Linked DNA regions of Homo sapiens: all the other regions are linked to region 3. Evidence: promoter capture Hi-C in 16 types of primary human blood cells and fetal thymus (Javierre and others, 2016). All regions are on one chromosome and are shown on one strand. The core of a region is centred on a gene start or on the middle of the fragment in contact, and the rest is flanking DNA. Distances in the headings are between cores, read along the strand shown.

What was found. Contacts are between HindIII fragments. The CHiCAGO score rates a contact against its expected background, and 5 or more counts as called.
Region 1: the fragment with the promoter of BBS1 here is called in contact with the fragment with the promoter of LRFN4 in region 3 in 1 of 17 cell types (naive B cells); the score reaches 5.4 in naive B cells.
Region 2: a contact is called between the fragment with the promoter of ANKRD13D here and the fragment with the promoter of LRFN4 in region 3, in 1 of 17 cell types (erythroblasts). The highest score is 5.8, in erythroblasts.

The regions. Positions count from the first base shown.
Region 1 is chr11:66,509,062-66,513,233 of GRCh38, reverse strand. BBS1 (Bardet-Biedl syndrome 1) reads right to left here and starts at 2,599. Exons shown (of 17, transcript NM_024649.5): 1 at 2,528-2,599; 2 at 2,145-2,221; 3 at 1,995-2,029. The coding sequence starts at 2,574. It overlaps DPP3 (dipeptidyl peptidase 3), which reads right to left. Exons shown (of 18, transcript NM_130443.4): 18 at 3,577-4,155. The coding sequence ends at 3,983. RefSeq lists an enhancer at 2,688-2,737. The HindIII fragment of the contact is 5,944 bases long and covers 1-2,675 here.
Region 2 is chr11:67,287,641-67,291,733 of GRCh38, reverse strand. It overlaps ANKRD13D (ankyrin repeat domain 13D), which reads right to left and starts at 2,431. Exons shown (of 15, transcript NM_207354.3): 1 at 2,184-2,431; 2 at 1,521-1,656; 3 at 1,288-1,412; 4 at 213-258; 5 at 1-131. The coding sequence starts at 2,273. RefSeq lists enhancers at 234-1,156, 1,157-2,081, 3,316-3,525 and silencers at 2,076-2,845, 3,026-3,095. The HindIII fragment of the contact is 22,420 bases long and covers 1-4,093 here.
Region 3 is chr11:66,855,814-66,859,940 of GRCh38, reverse strand. It overlaps LRFN4 (leucine rich repeat and fibronectin type III domain containing 4), which reads right to left and starts at 2,877. Exons shown (of 2, transcript NM_024036.5): 1 at 848-2,877; 2 at 1-304. The coding sequence starts at 2,196. All of the region lies in intron 12 of PC (pyruvate carboxylase), which reads left to right. RefSeq lists silencers at 2,992-3,101, 3,262-3,791. The HindIII fragment of the contact is 17,472 bases long and covers 1-4,127 here.

The DNA.
Region 1 (4,172 bases), core at 1,350-3,849, 350 kb after region 3:
TTGATAGACTTCATTCATCCTTCAATGCCCAGTTCACACATTACTACCTCCTGGTGCCTCCAGACAGAATCCATTGTTCTCGTTGGCGCTCCCGTAATACTTTCTACATGTTCAATTTTAGCATCTACTCACTTCCCCACAAATATTTATCAAGTACCTACTTTATGTCAGGTACTGGACTAGATGCTGGGACTCAATGGTGAATAAACTAGCCATTAAACATTCTATTATGTGAAGATATTTAACATTTCTTTTTTTTTTTGAGATGGAGTCTCGCTCTGTCACCCAGGCTGAAGTGCGATGGCGTGATTTCGGCTCACTGCAACCTCCGCCTTCTGGTTTCAAGCCATTCTCCTGCCTCAGCCTCCCGAGTAGCTGGGATTACAGGCGCCTGCCACCACGCCCGGCTGATTTTTGTATTTTTAGTACAGACAGGGTTTCACCATGTTGTCCAGGCTGGTCTCAAACTCCTGACCTCGTGATCCACCCGCCTTGGCCTCCTCCTAAAGTGCTGGGATTACAGGCATGAGCCACTGTGCCTGGCTAACATTTCTTATTAGCTACTGTGTCTGTGGTTTCTCTTCCCTCACTATTGTAAGCCCAGAGCCAAATACAAACTAGGTATTCAATCAATATCATGGAATAATTGTCGACAGTGTATCTCCTCCTGACCACATGCTGATGCATTTCTGAGTGTAGTGTCCCCATGATGCCTGACACACAGTAGGGACTCACTATACACTTGCTGAATTACTGAATACATTATGGATAGGAATTTGGGGGCAAAAACCACTGAGTCCTATTGCACTCTCTGTGTGGGGTGGGATTCCAGGACTATCTTCTAGCCACCCACATGATATATCCATTGTGGTGTTGTTGCCCATGGTGAGGGCTGAGCTTTGGTAGAAAAAGCACAAAACTTGGAATCAAACAGACCCAGTTACAAATTCAGTAAACTTCACCTCTTTGAAACTATTTTCCCATTCACAAAATGGGAATAAATAAAATCCATGTTTATGTGCCTCCATGGAATGTCTAGTCCAGAAATGGATACTGAATCCATGCTAACTTCCTTTCTTTTATCCCAATATATTTCTCTACCTTTAAAAAACTTGTATCTTTTTAAATTTACATTTTTATTTAAAATTAAATATATGTATATATATATACATATATATACACATATATATACATATATATACATATATATACACATATATATATATATATTTTTTTTTGAAACTGTCTCACTCTGTCATCCAGGCTGGAGTGTAGTGGCATGGTCTCAGCTCACTCAACCTCCGCCTCCTGGGTTTGACCAATTCTCCTGCCTCAGCCTCCCAAGTAGCTGGGATTACAGGTGCCCATCACCATGCCCGGCTAATTTTTGTATTTTTAGTAGAGATGGTGTTTCACCATGTTGGACAGGCTGGTCTCGAATGCCTAAGCTCAAGCGATCCACCCACCTCAGCCTCCCAAAGTGCTGGGATTGCTGGCCTTAAAATTAAATTTAAAATGTAACATTTTTACTATGGAAAATTTTCATTCACATACAAAAGTAGAGAGACTCATATAATGAGTCCCCATATATCCCATTATCCAGCTTCAAAAATTGACAGCTCATGGCCCATCTTAAAATCTTTTGATAAACATCAAACGTTCACTTCCCTCCTTTTTACTTTCCCTCCAGATTCTAGTGCCCACCCCCAACCAAGGGATTTGCCCTTCCAACAAAGAAATCAGGTTAACTAAGAGGCTTTGTCTTAGTAGAATCCCCAGAAATATTTGATCTGCTTTACTTTCTGCAGTCTGTATTATGAAATCAATAAGTTCTCTTCACTTTCCATATAAAAACAAAATTTAACGCTAAATGTGCTTTTTCACAGTATATGTGAATTCCAGAGTATGCTGGGCCTATTTTCAGCCGTCAGGAAATCTCATTTCTGGGTACACCCCCCTACCCTCAACTCTCCTGGCTAGGGTGATATGCTTACCTTGTATTCCCCATCCCCATGTAAATCTGCCAGCGCTGGAAAACAAAAGGGCCAAAACCAGAGTCTCAGAATCCCAGAGGCTTCACTACAGGACCATTGTCTGACTCCCCATCCCACTAGAACCCAGGGTTCCTGGTTCCAGAGACTCACCTAGGCAGGCAGAAAAGGTGTGGATATTGGCCATTGGGTCGTAGTGCGCATCCAACCACTTCGAATTGGCCTCATTGCTGGAAGTGGGGGAAAGACAGTTGGGGAGTGAGTCCCATGGGAGGGGAAAAAAAAACTTTGAGGAAGCTGGTACAGGTCACTCTGAACATAAGGTACAGAACGTCTGGGTACAAGTCCAGGCTCCGCCACTGGCTCACCGAGCGACCTCCAGACACACATATGCACATCTTAGGCCTCGGTTTCCCTATCTGACCTCTTAAGAGTCCTTCCAGACTGCCCGAGAACAGCAGGAGCCCAGAGCCCGGGGACCAAGGGACCCTCTTTACACGGGTGGGAAAAGAGGCCTTGAGGAGCCCTGCCTTCACCTCTCAGCTCCGCAGGCGTCGGAATCCGATGAGGACGCAGCGGCCATCTTCGCAGGCGTCGTCCTGGCAACCGGCCCCGCCCTCGCGTAACGCCCAATAGTGCCCGAGCACAGGGAAGGGCGAGTACAAAGGTTCCGGGCGCCAAGCTTTCCCACCCAGGCTCAGGAGGACGCGCTGGCCACCTTCCTGGGTTGAGGAATCTGTCTCAGATTCCTCAAAGATATTTATCTTTGCTCCTTCCCAGTCAGAGCCACCTTTCCAGGCGTCTGGGTCCTACAATCTCTGGGTCAGCCACAGAGCCCTCTGGCTTCCAGGGTTGGAAAGAAGCCCCTTCTAGCATTTATGAGCAGCAAAAAGAACTCCTCCTGTCTCCATCTTCATGGTTACCCGGTTGAAAAGGACCATGTCCTGCCTTGCTGCGTTACTGTAGAGGTCCAGGCCCAGAGAAACAAAACACGAGGGTTATGGGACAAATGCAGAGGATTCTGACTGAAGTTGAGTTTGTAGGTTCCCAGAACTTTTTTTTTTTTTTTTTTTTTTTGAGACGTAGTCTCGCTCTGTCGCTTGCGCTGGAGCGCAGTAGCGCGATTTCGGCTCACCGCAACCTCCGCCTCCCGGGTTCCAGGGATTCTCCTGCCTCAGCCTCCCGAGTAGCTGGGATTACAGGCGCATGCCACCATGCCCAGCTACTTTATTTTTTAGTAGAGACGAGGTTTCACCATATTGGCCAAGCCGGTCTCGAACTCCTGACCTCGTGATCCCCTCGCCTCGGCCTCCCAAAGTGCTGGGATTACAGGCATGAGCCACCGTGCCCGGCCCCAGAACATTTAAAAATGCAAGGAATGCCACAAAGGAGAGCTGCAAAAATTGTGCTATGTTCAGCTCTGTGACTGCGTATCCTCATCTAGAGATAATGTCAACATCCTGTTGTGGAAGGGAGGCTAAAAATGGCCCTCCTTGCCCCCTCCCCAGGCCTTGAGCCCATCACTCTGCTGGGAGTAAATGAGAAGACAGGCAAAGGCAAGGAGGAGCCACACACGCCGCAAAGATGGTGGTTGTCTCTAATATTTATTTGTCTGGTTATAAAATTAATATGTGAGGAGCATTGGATTTGGTGAGAACGTTTTGAACCCTAGCTGTCACGTGCCACCTGCGGGATCTAGACCAGTGACTTCTCAGAACTGCCATTTCCTCATCTGGTAGACAGGATGGTAAGCCCTGTCTTGCTCACTCCACGTATGGCAGTGCAGATGAAATGAGATCACAGAGGGGAAGCAATTGGCAGGCTGGAAAGTGCTGACAAATGGAAGGGGTTGTGTCACCACCCTCAGCTGAGGTAGTACCAAGGTCCAAGCTCCTGCCCCTCCCCCTCCCCAGCCCCTAAATACACACACGAATGGAGGGCCACTTGCAGCCTTGGTCTGATGGAATTGGGGGCAAGGCCACACATCTTCCTCAAGCTTGGCCAGATGGGGCCTCACTGGGGCCCTTCCAGAATCGGGCATCGGCTGTGGCCAGCTGTGTGAGGATCTCCTCCAACTCGGGTCCATCCTCTGGGAAACGCTCAGAGAAGGATCGGATGAGGCCAGCAGCTGACGCCTCGTATTCCAGAAGCTGCACGTCTGAGCCTGGGGAGGAGATGGAG
Region 2 (4,093 bases), core at 1,182-3,681, 430 kb before region 3:
GATGAAGCTCCTCCGGCCCCGCTGCCAGGTCATGTGCTCGAAGCCCAGGAGACTGGTGTCTACTCGCAGGCTCTCACCCCGCTTCCACACGCGGTACACATCGCTTGGGCACATCTTAGACACAAGGGGCACTGCAGGGTGCACAGGGGTCACTGGGGGTCTTTCCAAAGGCCCCACCCCAAATCCCTGGGAGCCCAGAGGTCCCCACTCACCCCAGCTGGTGAACTCCCACTTCATCTCAACGTAGAAATCGGGGGCCTAAGAGAAACCAGAGCTGCTTGTCAGCGCCCTGCCTGCTGCTGGCTCCAGCAGGCCTGGGAGCCCCTTGTCCACAGCCAGCCCAGCCCTTCATCAGGTCTTTTTTTTTTTTTTTTTTTTTTTTGAGACTTGCTCTGTCACCCAGGCTGGAGTGTAGTGGTGCAATCTCGGCTCACTGCAACCTCTGCCTCCCTGGGCTCAGGTGATTCTTCCACCTCAGCCTCCCGAGTAGCTGGGACCACAGGTGTGTGCCACCACTCCCAGCTAATTTTTGTACTTTTTGTAGAGACGGCTTTCACCATGTTGCCCAGGCTGGTCTCCACCTCCTGGGCTCAAGTGATCCGCCCACTTTGGCCTCAGAAAGCGCTGGGATTACAGGAGTAAGCCACAACGCCTGGCCCTTCATCAAGTCTTGACGCACTGCTATGGCTCAGCTACGCCCAACCACTCTGCCCTGGAGAGGGTGGGCCAAGTGGGGCACTACAGTGGTCTTCAGACAATGAGGCTGTAAGCACCTGGAGGTGGAGGGCCAGCCTCAACCTGGCCATGAGCCTGTGCAGAGCCCTGGGGGAGCCTTTGTTTCCACTGGGTCTCAGAGTCCTACTCTGTAAAGGGGGCACAGTGGCTCCCTCCGAGCCTGCTCCTGGGGTAGGGGGTATGAGATAGTATGCTCTGCCAGCCAGGCCCCTCCGTGTGCTTCCAGAAGGGTGCGTAGTAGCAAGTATTCCAGGGTTTCAGGCCATAATCCACCGAGTCAACCTGAAGTCCCTGCTCCAGGTAATCTGCATTCTTCAGGAGGCCCAAAGCTGGCAAGGCTTCTCTTCCAAAGGGTCCAGTCTCTCCCACGTGAGCCTGGCCGTCTCTCTTTCCTACGTGACCCTGGGCTGGGGTCAAGATAGACAGACCTCCTTGCTGGTGGCAGGAGGCACACTGCACAAACTGGGTGCCTTTCCAAGGCCAGGCCTGGCACAGTAACCAGGGTGGTGCCCTGCCATGGTACCCCACCTCCATAACTGTGCCCTGCTGTACCTGGCGAAGTTTGTTGAGCAGTTCCGGAATGCCCGCCAGCCTCTGCGTGGCCCTCTGGTAGTCCCGATACTGGAGCACCAGCTGCACCATCTCGGGGTCTCCAGTGCTGACTGCCTCCTGCAGGACTGCGGGCACCAGGCTGCTGAGGGGAGCCCTCCAGATGACCCCAGGCCTGGCTGCTCACTGCCCCCCGCCTGCCAGCCTCAGGGGGAGCCCCTTGTCCTCTGCAGTACCTGCCCAGCCCTGGCGGTTCTCTTTGCCCACGTTGGCATTGTGTCGAAGGAGCACTCTCACAGACTCCAGGTTTCCCAGAGACACGGCCAGCTCCAGTGGGGTCCGCCCGCGGGGGTCCTCCTGTTCAATGTCGTGCTGGGGGAGACGGGACACTCACAAAGGGCAGGAGAGAAGAGGGCAAGGCAGGGAGGCTGCCAGGGCGAGCAGGGTTGGGAATCGCTGTGGGAAATAAGGACGGCGGACTGACCAGGGAGATGGCAGAGGGTGGCCTGCGTGTCCTGGCAGGGGAGAGGAGGGGGCAGGAGGGAAGGCAGGGGCAGAGCCGGGGTCTGGCGGCGGGGCCTGGTCAGGCAGAGCTGCAGGTTGTCAGGAGTTTGGCGGAACCTGGGGACCAGGACCAGAGTTCTTGTTCTCAGCTTGGGTCAGCAAGGATGCGGAAGCGAGTTCGGGCGAGCAGGGCAAGGCCCAGCGCAGGGGAGAGGAGGCCAGAGGCTCAGGCGCGAGGGGCCGGTGACCTGGGCTTGGGATCGTGCAGGGGAGGAAGGCCCAGGATGTGGCTGCGGAGCTGAGCGGGCGGGGGGGGGGGGGGGGCTCCAGGACGGAGGCCACAGCCTTGGGTGGGGGACCCGGGGGAAGGGCCGGGTGCCCCAGCGGGGCCTCACCTGGTGGCTGTGCAGTGCGGCCTCCAGTTCGCGATGCCGGTTCGCCCAGACGAGCCGGTGCAGCGGGAAGGTGGGGCCCGGGCCGGCCATGCTGGGCCTCAGCGCCGCATCCCGGCCCCGCCTCGGCTTCGGGCCTGGCACGGCCCCCTAGCCTCCCCTCCGAGCCGCGCCCCAGCTGCGCCCCCCGCGGCCCCCGCAGCAGTAGCGGCGGCGGCGGCGGCGGCGGCAGCGCGGGCGGCAGGGAGGGCGGGGCGGGCGGCGGAGCGGGCGGGGCTGCGCCGGGCCGGGGCGGGGCTTCGCGCGCGCCCCCGTCCCCCCGCAACCATGGCAACCGCGGCCAGGCCAGCGCGCGGCAGAGCAACCGCGAGCGCCCGAGGAGATGCCCGGCCTTGGGTCTGCGCCCCGACCTCGGTCGGGCCCGGGTCCGCTGGGGCGGCCTGGAGGGCGGTGCCCGGTTACAGCTCCGCCCGCGGCCCGCAGGAGGCGCCCCGAGCCCTGCGCAGACCCCCGGAGCCGGGTCCGGAAGAGGAAGGCGGGGCCGGAGGGGGCGGGCACTGGGCCCCTCGGTAGTGCACGCGCGTGCGCGGCGGGCCGCGGTCCTGCTGCAGCCGTGATGCCTGCGTTTCCCCCGCGGATCCCCTTGCTCGCCCCGGTCTTCCTACCCCAGGTCCCGCGGTCACCGACTCTGCTGGGGTGTGCGGGTGAAGTGGGGCGCCCCGGCTCCCCTCACCCGGCCTGGAGACGAGCAACGAGCAGACGCCACTAAGTGCTTGCCGGCTGAGCGGGAAGCACCTTCCCCTGGGACCTGGCCGGTGTCTGCAGGCCCAGCGATGCGGGGAGGCGGCCCCCGGGGCCCTGAAGTCAGGGATAGGAGTTCGGGGAGAGAGGGGCGCAGGCCCAGGCAGCGGCAGAGCCGTCCCGGCGGAGGACCGCCCGCGGCGAACGGCTGCCTTCGCCCGCCGCACGAGTCCCTTTTGCAGAGGCTGCGGTTGGCTGCCAGCGTCAGGAGAGGAAGGCGAGTTTCGAAATCAGGGCCGGCCCCTCCACCCACACCGGAACTAGGGTGCAGGCCTCCGTCAGCTCAGTTCCGGCCCTTGATTACTGGAGGCCCAGCCTGGGGTCTGGGGCCCTGGTTTTGCTAGGTGGCCAAGGCTGACCCTCTATTCTCCCTTTCCCTACGTGGAACATGATTGAGGAGGGCCAGCTAGCTTGAGCATCACTTCCTGCTGTAGGGCGTCCTCAGTTCTGAGACTCTGGGCTGGAAGGCCTGATTGCCATTTTTACCCTGCCTTCTCCCTGTAGTCACATGGCGCCTGTGCCATCTGGGGTCACTTTGCCACCCCACGCTATGGTGTCAATCTGTGAGGTCCTGGGGTTGGTAGCAGCCCGAAGGCTTCTGAATGCCCAGAGCTCACCTGCTCACCACTACTGCAGCCCTCCCTGGCCACCCCTTTTCTCAGAGGCGGTCCCTTCCCTGAGCCCTCTCCAAACTCAACCCCGACAGGACTTTCTTGGTTCCAGCCTCTCCTGATTTCTGCCATCTTGAACACAGCTCCCCACTGGCACTTAATTCCATGACAGTGCCTTCTCAACCCTCTTCCACGGCCTCCTCTCTCTCCCTGACCCCCACATCCCTGGGAGAGAGACTGTCCGTTCCCATTGTCACCCTGATGCCACCCCCAGGTCCACATTTCAGCTTACTCCAGGACATCTCTGTGCCCAGGGATCCCATGCTATCCCATCAGTATGTCCGAAGCCAACCCAACCACACCTACCCTCTTCCCCAGACTCCCGCCTCACTCAGCCCCAAGTCCAGCCTGTTTCTGCTGGACCACGTTCTTCCCGTCTGGCCTCTTTTCATCTCTTCCTCTCCCACTGCGGAGGTTTGTCTCCCTGCCTCCTGTCCTTCA
Region 3 (4,127 bases), core at 1,628-4,127:
GAGGGGGAGGCGGCCATTTCCGGCCCCCCGGCCCCGAACCAGCAAGGCCACAGTGAAGACCAGTAAGGCAGCCACCAGCACACCCCCCACGGCCACGGTCAGGGTCCCGCCCAGCACGTGGGCCTGCAGGGCGTGGCACAGGGGCGAGGCCGGCAGCGTGGAGAAATGGGCACAGCCCAGCAGCCTGGTGGCCGTGAGGTCAGAGGGCCCAGCGGCCGGTGACAAGGCCAGCAGGCAGAGGTCATAGTCAGCGCCGGGGACGAGGTGCTTCAGCAGGAAGTGGTGGCTGGAGGCTGGGACAATCCTGCAGGCAAGGGCAGGTGGTCAGAGCCCGGGGCTGGGGTCTAGCCCCATCCTCACCTCCCCACTCCCGTGCTCCCAGCTCCAAACACCCCTCCCCCTGGGGCCACTCGGGCTCTTGGGTTCACTCAGGAAGGTGAACAGGCTGGAGAGTGTGGCCAGGAGATGGGTGTGTGCACTGGCACAGGACGCAGGCAAGCGAGGGGAATGGGGTGGGGGGATGGCACCAGCAGAGGCAGAAATAACACGCGGGCGCGGGCCATGTGCTTCAGACAGACCCAACCGCCACCTGCTGCCGGGGAGGCCTGCACAGCTCAGTGACACCTGGGACATCTCGGGGTGGGGTCCTTCTGCCGCCCCTTGAGCTCCAGCCCCCTCAGGCAGCCAGGCCAGGCCAGGCCACTGCTCCTCCAAGAGTCCAGCAGCCATGGTCGGGGAGGGGGTGTCAGCCCCAGAGAGAGGAGGGGTGGAAGCAAAGCCTTGTGGGGAGCAGAGGGCGGAGGAAGGGCGCCGGGAGTGCAGCCGGGTGTGGGGCACGCATCCTCACCGGTAGATGAGGGTCTCATCTTCGCTGCTGTTGTACTGGATTTGGAACATCCACACTGGGTCGGCTGGCCGCCCGGGACCCCAGCTCACCAGCCCTGAGGTGGCGGTCACCTCCGTCACCTGCACGGCTGGCTCAGACTCCAGCGTCCCCTCACCCTCGGCAGCAGTGCGAGCGGAGGCGGCGATGTCCGAGGGCCCGGGGCGGCCCCCCTCGGCACTGCTGTTCCCACCATGGGGCAAGGCCAGCACCCGCAGTTCTACTCGGGCTGTGGCCTCACCAGCAGGGTTGGTGGCGATGCAGGTGTAGCCCCCAGCGTCCCCAGCGCCGGTCACCCCAATCTCTAAGGTCCCGTTGGGGAAAGCCCGGGCTCGGGAGGAGTTGCCAACCAACCGGTCGTCAGGACCGACCCAGTGCATGGTAGGCGCGGGGTCACCCAGGGCCCGGCACCGCAGCGTGGCCCGCTGGCCTTCCAGCACCCAGAGGCGCTGCGTGTGGCGGGCAATGAGGGGCGGCTCACAGGAGAACTCGCCCTCGGGCACTGCCCAGAAGTAGCGGCCGGCCAGGCCGGGCGGGGAGGCGCACGTTTCCAGGTCGTCCGGCCGCGCCAGCCGCCGCAGCCACAGCAGCTCACAGTTGCAGTGCAGGGGGTTCCCGCTAAAGCTCAGCACCAGGGGGGCGGGAGAGGCCTCTGCATCACGCCCACGAGAGAAAAGCGGGTCCGGAGCCAGCGTGGCCAGGCGGTTGGAGGTGAGGTCCAGGCGGGAGAGCTGACCGAGCTGGGCGAAGGCGCCTGGGGGCAGTGCGTCAATAAGGTTATGGTCCAGGTTGAGGGTGTGCAGGGCAGGCATGGCGCCGATGCCGGCCCAGGGCACCTGCCGGAGGTTGTTGTAGGACAGGTCCAGGTCCTCCAGGCTCTCTAGGAAGTCGTCGAAGGCTCCCGGCGCGATGCGGCCCAGCTGGTTGCCGCTGAGGATGAGGTGCTGCAGATTGACGGGGCCCCGGAGGCTCCCGGTGCCCAGCTCCACCAGCCTGTTGCCGTCAAGGTGGAGGGAACGCAGGCTCTCGAGGTCCCCAAAGGCGCGGGCCCCAATGCGGGTGATGGCATTGCGAGACAGTGTCAGGTCCACCAGTCCCGTCATGTTGCGGAAGTCAGGGGGCCCCAGGGCCTGGATGAAGTTGTCAGCCAGCCGCAGCTCCACTGTGCGCCGGTCCACGTTGGGCGGCACAAACAGCAGGCCTCGGTGGGCACAGAGGGTGCTGAGCGACTCGGACAGGTTCTGGCAGACGCAGGGCAGCGGGCAGGCGGCCGCTCCACTGGCCAGCAGCAGCAGCAGGAGCGGCGGGGCCATGGTGAGCGCCCTGTAGGAAGGGGCCACAGCCCAGGCACAGGTGGGGCTGGCGCAGGTGCCCACTTGGGCCCAGGACAGTCCCAGAAGCCAGCTTCTGTGAGCCTGGCCCGGGGAGGGGCTGGGTCAGAGGCCCAAGAGGGCCGCCAGAGATGAGGGAAGGTTGGGGCCTGCAGGGCCAGGCCCCCCAGAGCAAAGGTCACATTTCCCAAGCAGTTAAGGGGGAGTCCAGGCGCTGGGGACAAGGTGAGGCATGAGGCAGGAAGCGGAGGAGGACCGAGAGCAGGGAGGGTCCCGGAACTTCCTTTCCCAGGCGTCCCCAGGAATCGCCAGCCGCCTCCCCACTCCCCGCCATACCCTCCCCCGCCAGAGAAGGCGCCCCCCGAACCTCCCGTGGAGTCCGTGGCCCCTCCCTGGCCGGCCCCCGCGCTGCGCCCGGCGGCCCCCTCACCTGGTGTCCGTCGCTCAGGGGGCGCGGGCCGGCCTCCCTGCGAGCCCGGCCGGCCCCCGCCGACTCCTGGCCGCTCTCCCGCGGGGACGAGGCCCGGGGATGACCGGCCGCCCGCCGCCCACCCTCGGGCCCATGGCGCTCGGGCCCGCGGCCCCGGCTCGCTCGGTTCCCGGCACCTTTTCCCGGCGCGGTTAGCGGTGGCGGCGGCGACAGGCGAGCGGGTGCGCGCCGGCGGGCGCGCGCGCCGCGGACACGCACGTGGAGGGCGGACGGGGAGGGGCGCGCGGGGATCCACCCGGGCCCGGGCCGGCTCCTGAGGTCACGGGGACACGCGGCCGCTGCAGCGCCCACGGGTGGCGCCCAGTCACGCCCGAGGCCCGGGCCGGCGCGGGCCCTCCGCGCTGTCCCCCGGCGCTGCCGCAGCGCACTCACCCTGGCACAGGCGCGCGCGCCCCCGGCCATCCTGGCGCCCCGGCATCCTGCACCGCACGGGCGCCCGCCGCCGCGGCGCGAACCTCACTCTGCAGACAGCCAGACAAAGCGCCTGCTCGCGGGCCCCTTCACCATCTCCCGGAGACGGGCGTCTTTGTCACATGTCGCTGGGCACCCTCCCCAACACACCCACACATGCCCACACACCCACACGTCCCTGCACCCACGGGCAGGGCCGAGCGCAAACCCGCACTGTTGCTGGGACCCTTGCGTTCACAGACACACGCTGAAGGTCATAACCGTTCTGCATCACCGAGTCACGTGGAGGGTCCCCAACCGGCACGGGGTTCGGCCGTGGGGGGGGCTGGGGCGGCGCCCCTGGCAGGGCTGCTGCGGGGTGGGGCCGAGAGGGCTTGGCCTCCGGGCAGGCGCCCCGCCCCCGCCGCCCCGCCCTGTCCCCAGCTGCCTCTCGCCTCTCCCTCCCTCCCCAGCTGCCCCGCCCGCCCCGCGGGCCAGGCGTTCCGGAGCCAACCGGCCTCCGCCTCGGGCCGGATTGGTCTGCGCGGCGCGGCTTCCCAACCGCCGGGGGCACGCATTGGGAAGCTGTGCGTCCTCGCAGCGCCTGCGGCCCCTCCCTCCCGCTCTGTCGCCGCCGGGCCATTTCCCTGGAAGAGCGGCTCGGAACCAGCTCCTCTCAGAGAAAGGGCTCCCGGCGTGAGGTGGGGGAGGTTCTTTGCTTCCTGGTTGAGAAAGCTGGGGCTTCGGTGGCTCGGCGAGCCTGGTTTCCTTCCAGCTGTGCCCGCCACCACCAGTGGTCTGCCCAGTTGGGAAACAGGAAGTCACCACCTCCCCGTGTCTCCTGGTCCTTAAGCCACCTAAACCTCAGCCATCCTCGTTCTCCCTCCAGCCCTGATCCCCATGGGCCAGGTGGCAGGAAACTCGGGGAAACCCAAGATTGGAATTCTGATCCTGTCAGCACAGCAGTGTAGTCCTGGGCACGTTACCTGACCACTGAAAACAAGTTCCTCCTGTAGGCCAGGAGAGTTGGATG